2 separate regions of the Homo sapiens genome follow, and region 1 is linked to region 2. Evidence: promoter capture Hi-C in 16 types of primary human blood cells and fetal thymus (Javierre and others, 2016). All regions are on one chromosome and are shown on one strand. Each heading gives the region's core, a stretch centred on a gene start or on the middle of the fragment in contact. The rest is flanking DNA. Distances are from core to core; before and after follow the strand shown. Region 1 overlaps GABRQ (gamma-aminobutyric acid type A receptor subunit theta). Region 2 holds the start of FATE1 (fetal and adult testis expressed 1).

Region 1 (3,783 bases), core at 728-3,227, 940 kb after region 2:
GGAGGTATACAGCACATGGATTTCCTTTCCTGCTAGAAGACTCTCACCTTTTCAAAGACTTGTAACAAGGAATAAGCATAGAAAAGCCCCTGGAAATGTTTAGAGGACAGAGAAGAGCCAGGTTGGGGGATGGGGCAAGGATCTGGGCCTTTTGCCCACAAACATTTCTGGGGGGCTTTTCTGTCCCCCTTGAGGTGTCAACATTTCTTTTTCATTACATGTTTTCTTCTTTTTTTGTTTCCTCCTAGGGATTATGGGTCTTGTTCACCCTCTGCTTAGGGCTTTATAGAAGAAAGTCAAGCTGGGTTGGGCTGGGGTTCATAGCTAAAGGGCTAGCCATGGCTTAGAAGTTCAGGGAACTTCCTATAGGAAACTTAGGGAGCATTTGTAAGTGCCTTTCCCCCACTGTATGGCATTTGACTGTGGTGTTTTGATGCAAGCGTGGAAGGGGAATGTGGGTGGATGGGGCTGCAGAGTGAGACATCAGGGTGAGAGAGCACATACTCAGCTTGTGGGGTTGGCAGAGGGTGGGGGGTGATGTCAGGTTGGAAATTACACAGTTGAGCTGGCCTCTTCGGAGGGATTGGAACTTGCCTATATTTCTGCTTCAGAACGCTTGGCAATAGAGACTCAATACATCTGTCTAAGTCAGGAGTTAGCTTTCCGTCAGTTGCTGAGTTGATCACCAGTTACAGCACTTGGTGAATAAGCACTAAGGTTAGGATAATTCACACTTGCTATTTTACCATCTGATCTAGACTAGCAGATGAATATCTATCGTAAGTCTATATACTAATCCTTTCTATTTGTCTAGTGCATAGTAAGTGTCAACAAGCTCCCTGACCCATTACATCACTGGAGCCTCACAGGAGCCCTGTAAGCCAGGGAAGGCAAAGCACATTGTCCCCAGTGTTCCAAGGAAAACGAATGGAGCTTATGCCGCATGCTTGAGGACATGCAGCCAGTGAGTGGTAGATCCACCCCACTTGCTCTTTCTTGTCTTTTTCCTCCTGACTGTCCCAACTGAGGCATTTCCTTTTCTTCCCTCCCTAAAGAGGGTGCTCCAGAGGGCCCCCACCACATCCTCTAGCACCTGGGGCATCTCTGCAGGAATAGGCTGGTGACCAGCCAATGAGCGTGACGTGAGCAGATGGAGAACACACTCTGCCCACTGAGCAGGGCCCCTAACGGAAGTAGGATTGGCCAGCATTCCAACTTGCCAAGCAGCTCCACCTCACTGATGGAGGTTGTGAGGGAGTGAACTTTGCCGAGCACTCAACATATGCCACCTCTTCCTCCCTATGCAGTCTCTCCCTCAGTCCCTTACCCCTCTACCCACTCACCCTTTAACTGTGCTTCTGTGTTTGTGTTTCTGTATATACCTGGGTGTATGCATATGCAGCAGGGTGGGTGTATGTACATATACAACCATTTGAGAAGCTGCATAGTGCCGTGTCTAGTGGTGTAAATCTACATTGGTGTGTACAGAATTGTATCTACAGCATGTGGATGCATGCGTGTGTGTGCACATCCCTGTGAAAGTGTGGCTTATGTATGTGTATGCTTGTGTACACATGGGTCTATGCTGAGTGCATGTATATAAGGGCATGTCTGCATATCTATGTTTATCTGATTTGAATGGGTGTGAAAGGAAATACCCCTGAAAGCATATGTATTCCCTGTTGGTGACCCTTCTAGAACCACTATAATTCCCTTGGCCTGCTCCCATATGGTGGAGGGGCCCTATTTGGCCGGGCTGCTTAACTGACTGTTTCTTTCCAACTTCCTGTTCCAGGGAGCAGCATCTCCCAGTTCCCTTCCACTGTTTGCCCTGTCCCTCCATCCATCTGTGCTGTCTCCTAGATAGAAGACTGGGGAAGTGAATGTAGTCCTAAGAAGTGGTGAGCTAGTGCCTTGAGGTAGGAAGTGGTTAATCCATGGAAGAAGCTGCAAGTACAGAGCATTTCACTTTGTCCTAGAGGAACATGTTTCGGGGTAACAGGCTGGGGAGTGAGGCTGAAAGAGGCATTGAGAATAGACACTTGTACAGTCACATACACATACACACACACAAATCTTGTACGACAGTTGAAAACAAGAAAGTTACCACTGGAAGAGCTAAAATTGCCTCTTTATTTTTGGATACCCCATACAGAGATTCAGGTGGAGGGGAGAGCAGTGACTCCATGTCTGAAGCTCCCAATGTGGCTATTGAAAGGCTGGCTTCCTGGAGCCTAAGCATTGGTTGGTTGACGTGGATTTGGGTCTCCAGCACCCTGGAGGTGCTTTCAACCCTGTGGTGGCAAGCAGTTCATTTGGGATAAAGTCATAAAGGGAGATTGGAGCAGTGTGAAGAAAAGGAGGGTTTTAAGATTTGTCTGGAAGCAATGCACATGAAGGCTTCACAGCACAGAGGAAGGGCAGCGAGGCCAGTTGTAAATATCTCTATAGATCCATATAGCTAGATATAATACTATACCTTAAAAAGGATATCTTGCCCTGACGTGCTGCAATGAGAGCAGTTGAACTCTACTGCGACTCATACTCTGTAGGTTAAGTGTCAAAATGAGGTGGAGATTTGGCAGTGACACCCTTTCGGGAACGTGAACCTTCTGAGTTTGCTATGGATTTGGTCATTTTAGCCTGCACGTTGCCAGATCTCCCCTTGTTGAGTCTTGTATGTGGTCTGTCCTCTGTGTCATTTGAGTCCTCAGCTGTCCCCAACCCCTTCCCAGCCCCTCCCCAGCCTGCAGTCACCCCCTGTCCAGCAAGCTGCCTCCATCCCATCCCTCTCCTCACCTCACACCAGGTAACTCTGGAAGTGCAGAATGCTTGGTAGTTTGGAGCTTGGGCAGCATCTGGGATGCAACAACCCCTATTTTACTCTTCTACCCACCTTCCATTTCTTTCCTTCCCATCGACTTCCCCGACCCAGGATCCCTTCTTTGCCACTATCATGGGAAGGACACCCCTGTCTGTCTTTCTGAAGTATCATTTTATTGTGGGGATGTGTGACACGTTTCCTACCAAGTTCTTGCCAGTTCCATCTGCCACTGTGGGGTGCCTTTGCACAGGTCATGGACGATCTGCTGGGTCTTACTAGAGCCTGTCAAATGTATTCTTACAATTCATGTCATCTTGTTAATAGCAGGACTTCAAAGTCTTTGCATATTTAGAGCTGAGTTTTGCTGAGACTGTGGCCATTCCTAATGAGGTTTCCTCATTCCATATATATAATAGCTAACCCTTAAAGCCATTAACTAATGAATGCATTTATTAAGCTATCCACTCGCATGGTACCCTGCTGTGGTGATGAGCAGTAACTTTCTAGCTATTCCATAGCCCAACATCAAAGGAAATCGTGACTCGTCCTACTAGAAGTGTAGTGTCTTTGTGTTTGTTGTGTAGTGTCCTGTGATCAATATAAAATCTATATTATCAGTGTTGGGTTTTCAGGGGAGGGAGGGAGAGGATGTTAAAGTCTCTCTTTGATAAACTTAAATTATGAAATAGCCCAGTTGTTCAGGGTCACTTCTATTGACTCAATTTGTGTGAGACTTTGCACTCACTATCTCGCCGGCCGGACTGCATGCCCAGGGTCAGTAGTCAGCAGAGCTAAAGGTGCCCGAATTTAGCACAGCTGGCTGTGGTGCCTGACATAGGGCAGTACCGGGGGATTCTTCAGAGGTCAGCCAAGTCGGTAACATTCTGTGAAGCAGATTAAATACAGTAAAATCAAACAAACGGAGGTCTTTGGAAGTGATGCTGGGCCCAGGCAGTGAA
Region 2 (3,968 bases), core at 1,354-3,853:
TATGGCACACACCTCAGATGTAGGTGATCTCAATTGTGCAAAACACTGAACACTGAAAACATATAGACACACATACAAGCCAGGTATGTTCTGGACCCTTCTTTCCCCTATGAAGAAGCATCTGTTGAACCTTTGGGTGAGCAGAACCTTCCACTGGAGTGTTAGGGCTCTGCAGCCTGTTATGTACACTTGGCCATGTGCCATCTTCCTGGACCCAGGCACCGTGTGAGACTTGAAAGGTCTCTCTCTGTATCCCAGGTGCTCTAGTCCTTCGAGGCCCTGAGGTTAGCACACAGACTTTGGGGTAGGGGGCTTTTCAGAATGGTTGGAGTACGAATTTAGGGCCATTTCAAAAGGAGATTACCATGCAGATGATAATTATGAAATTATAATTAGCTAGCATGCTAAGAGACAAGTTCAAAGGCACATAGCAAACTCTCGTCACCTCCAAGTTGTCCTTGGCACTCAATCCAAGAAAGGAAGGCATGCTAAGGGGGTGAGATGCTGGGGTTTTTGAGTGGCATTGGGGGTTCAGGGATTGGGAAGGAATTCTCCCACCCTCTTTGCTTGGCTTTAGGTGGTGGATTCCTATGCCACCAGGGGGCAGTGCCTCCACATGCACCTGGACCCTGTGCTCCTGTGCCCAAGAAGCCCCACCAGGGCCAGTTGATAGCGAGACAGAAATCTGGCCTCCATAGCCCGAGGCCCTGTGGCAAGCCAGTGCCCACACTGCTCTAGCTTTGCTGACTTCTGAGTGCTCCTCACAATCCAGCCACCCTGTAGGGAGGCTTGTCCATGGGGGAGACTGACACCAAAAGAAGCGAGAAACTTGCCCAAGGTAAAATCTTGAAGTCATAGTGAGATAAGATTGTCAGATGGAATACAGGATATGCAGCTAAATTTCAATGTCAAATCAATCCATGAATCATTCTTTAGTGTAAATATGTCCCAAAAGTTAGTGTACGAGAGAATACTTATACTGTTGTTTATCTGAAATTTAAATGTACTTCGTACCTATATTTTCATTTGCTCAATCTGGCTGGGCTTCCCAGGCTCCTGAATCCCACTGAGCTGAGCACACTCAGCAGTTTCTCTGCTCCCAAGGTGGCCCTCCAGAAAGCTCGAATTTCATCACAGCTGCTCCACTGGATCTGGGAAGGGCTTCTTTGGGGCCCCCAGGAATGCAGGCAGGGCCTATATCAGCTCTGGTTCCCAAGCTGGACAGGTGAGGTGGGGGCAGGGGGCAGGCAGCCTCAGACCATGCCGCCCTATCTCAGCTACTCCTGGCCCCTTCGTTTCCACTTTCTCTCCCTTCCTTCCTTCCTTCCTTCCTTCCTTCCTTCCTTCCTTCCTTCCTTCCTCCCTTCCTTCTTCTTTTCCTCCTTCCTTCCTCCTCTTCCTCCCACCTGGCCCAGGGGCTCTGGGGGAAGAAGAGGCTATTTGTAAAAGGAACCTTATATAAACCTGTCCTGATTCCTTTTACAAATAGCCTCCTATTCCCCCAGGGGCTCTGGGGTTGTTTCCTAGAATGAAGGGTTCACCACAGGTAGTTGTAGCAATCAGGGTTTTCCAGAGAAACAGAACTGATAGGATGTATATATGTATGTATGTATGTATGTATGTATGTATGTATGTATGCATGTATGTATGTATATATCTGCATATGCACAAGTATATAGAAATTTATTTTAAGAAATTGGCTTATGCGATTGTGGGGCTGACAAGTCTGAAATGTGCAAGGCAGCCCTGCAGGCTGGCAACTCAAGGAAGAGTTGACATTGCAGTCCTGGGGTAGAATTACCTCTACTTTGGGAAACCTCAGTCTTTGCTCTTCAGGCCTCTCAGCTGATTGTGTGAGGCCCACTCACATCATCGAGGATGGGTCTCTACTTTATTTCAAGTCCACTGGTTGTAGATGCCAACCACAGCTACAAAATGCCTCCACAGCAACACCTAGACTAGGGTTTGATGGAGTCACTGGGGACTAGAACCTGGCCAGGTGACACATAAACCTGACCATCACAGTGGTCTAATCAGTAGGGAAGCTGAGGGAGAACTGGGACTTAGAAGGTGCAGGGCCTGAGGCCCCTGGGGGTTCTAGTGGCTGCAGTCAGGTCCCACCTCTCTTGCCCTTCTCTCCCTTTGTTATGGCTCCTGCCTAGGCTGACCTACTTCAGGAAAAGGCTACCTCCCGTGTCTGGGGACTCTGGATGGGGGAGGTAGGATACGCTCTCCAGAGAATCCCTTCTGAAGGTGTGGTATGGCCTGGATTGCTAGCACCTAACTCTGTTGTGGCCACTGTTGGCTCTCGGACCCTGTGCCAATCCCTGTTTCTTCATAGAAATGATGGAGGGTGGACCCCACCCTTCTCCCCATGGGCTAAATATGGAGATTCATGAGCCAGAGCAGTTCTCACAGGCAAAGGCACGGAATTGTATCTCTTCTCCTAAGTTGCTTACAGAGTAGCAGAGGAGAAGGCCACTGACCTAGCCAGCAAGATACAATAGAAACAGAAAGTACTGTGTCCAAGGCCTCAGCCTAGAGAGGGAGTCTCACTCCACCCCCAGATCTGACTATATCTTCCTTGAGCTCCTGTTTCCGGAAGAGGTGATTTTCTGAGTGTGACTCCTCTGTTCCTGGCACCCTGTGCATCCTTAGCCATAGCTTACAAGAGAACAGCTGGTTGTGATGGCAGGAGGCCCTCCCAACACCAAGGCGGAGATGGAAATGTCCCTGGCAGAAGAACTGAATCATGGACGCCAAGGGGAAAACCAAGAGCACCTGGTGATAGCAGGTGAGGATCCCCTAAAATACCCCTAGGCTACAGCCAACTGTGTAGATACGTGTCTATACCTGTGCATGTGTGTGTTGGAAAAGGTGCATGTGTGCACGGAAGTGTTTGCACATCTGTGTGTTGGCCGGGCTTCGAGGATTTGTGGGTTGATGTAAGGGAGCTAGGGGAAAAGGGATAGATGATGTGAGCATTTTTCCCTGGGAGGGAGGAGGATGGGAACAACATGTGTAGTACCTCTGTCTCCCCCTTATCCAAGCCACCACAGTCTCTGTTGCAAAATACTCAGAGGGCTCAAATTATGAGACCAGAGATCAATTCTCTCTCCCAATCCTCCAATTCATTTTCCTGCCATTTGGAGGAAAATCCAAATTCCATGATCTATAAGATTGTATCAGCCTCCTCAAAACGTTTCATGCTATGATATAGACAGAAAATACCATTTCTATAGCACACAAAGGGATCCAGATCACATTGCATTTATGTTTGTTCTTACGATGCTCCAAGCCTGCTTCTTCCCCCAAAGACCTTGCATTTGCTGTTTCCTCTGCCTGGAATGCTCTTTCCCTCAATTTCCCAGGGCTGGGTCCTTTTTTTCCTTCAGGTCCCCACCTCAATTGCTGTCTCCTACTTTTCTAGGAGGAGCCCTTTCCTTCCACTATGTTACCCTGTTTTGATCATTTATGGAGCCTGCATCTCTCTGTCTGCATTTGCAAGGATAGATTGCTTTCTGTTTTACACCTGTCATTCCCCCTTATACACAAACAGATGGTCAGTTCCTTGATAGCTGGAATCTTGTTCTTGGTCATTGGTCTCTAGGTTACTGGAGAGTAACCTAGTCTCGAGCTCAGCCCTCAGGAAATTCCGGTTTAACTTTTGAACAGATGAACAAACTGAGACCTGGGATCAGCTGATGGACAGTGGTTAATGGGTGCTGAGTGATTCCCAAGAAAGCTGGAGACTCTGTCTTCTTTTTGGTGTGTTTTGTGCCCAAGAAACCCTGGTGCAACTTCTATGGGTGCTCCTGGAGCTTCTGTTCTTCTCTCTAGAAATGATGGAGCTTGGATCTCGGTCCCGGGGTGCCTCCCAGAAGAAGCAGAAGTTGGAACAAAAAGCTGCTGGCTCTGCTTCAGCCAAACGAGTTTGGAATATGACTGCCACCCGACCCAAGAAAATG

The links. Contacts are between HindIII fragments. The CHiCAGO score rates a contact against its expected background, and 5 or more counts as called.
Region 1: a contact is called between a fragment that was not itself captured here and the fragment with the promoter of FATE1 in region 2, in 2 of 17 cell types (M2 macrophages and endothelial precursors). The highest score is 5.9, in M2 macrophages.

What each region holds. Positions count from the first base shown.
Region 1 is chrX:152,653,488-152,657,270 of GRCh38, forward strand. GABRQ (gamma-aminobutyric acid type A receptor subunit theta) reads left to right here. Exons shown (of 9, transcript NM_018558.4): 9 at 1-3,783. The region is part of intron 2 of MAGEA3-DT (MAGEA3 divergent transcript); the gene reads right to left. Among named protein-coding and RNA genes, the nearest start is that of GABRQ, 17 kb to the left of the region's middle. The HindIII fragment of the contact is 8,561 bases long and covers 1-3,783 here.
Region 2 is chrX:151,713,432-151,717,399 of GRCh38, forward strand. FATE1 (fetal and adult testis expressed 1) reads left to right here and starts at 2,604. Exons shown (of 5, transcript NM_033085.3): 1 at 2,604-2,794; 2 at 3,841-3,968. The coding sequence starts at 2,689. The HindIII fragment of the contact is 6,237 bases long and covers 1-3,968 here.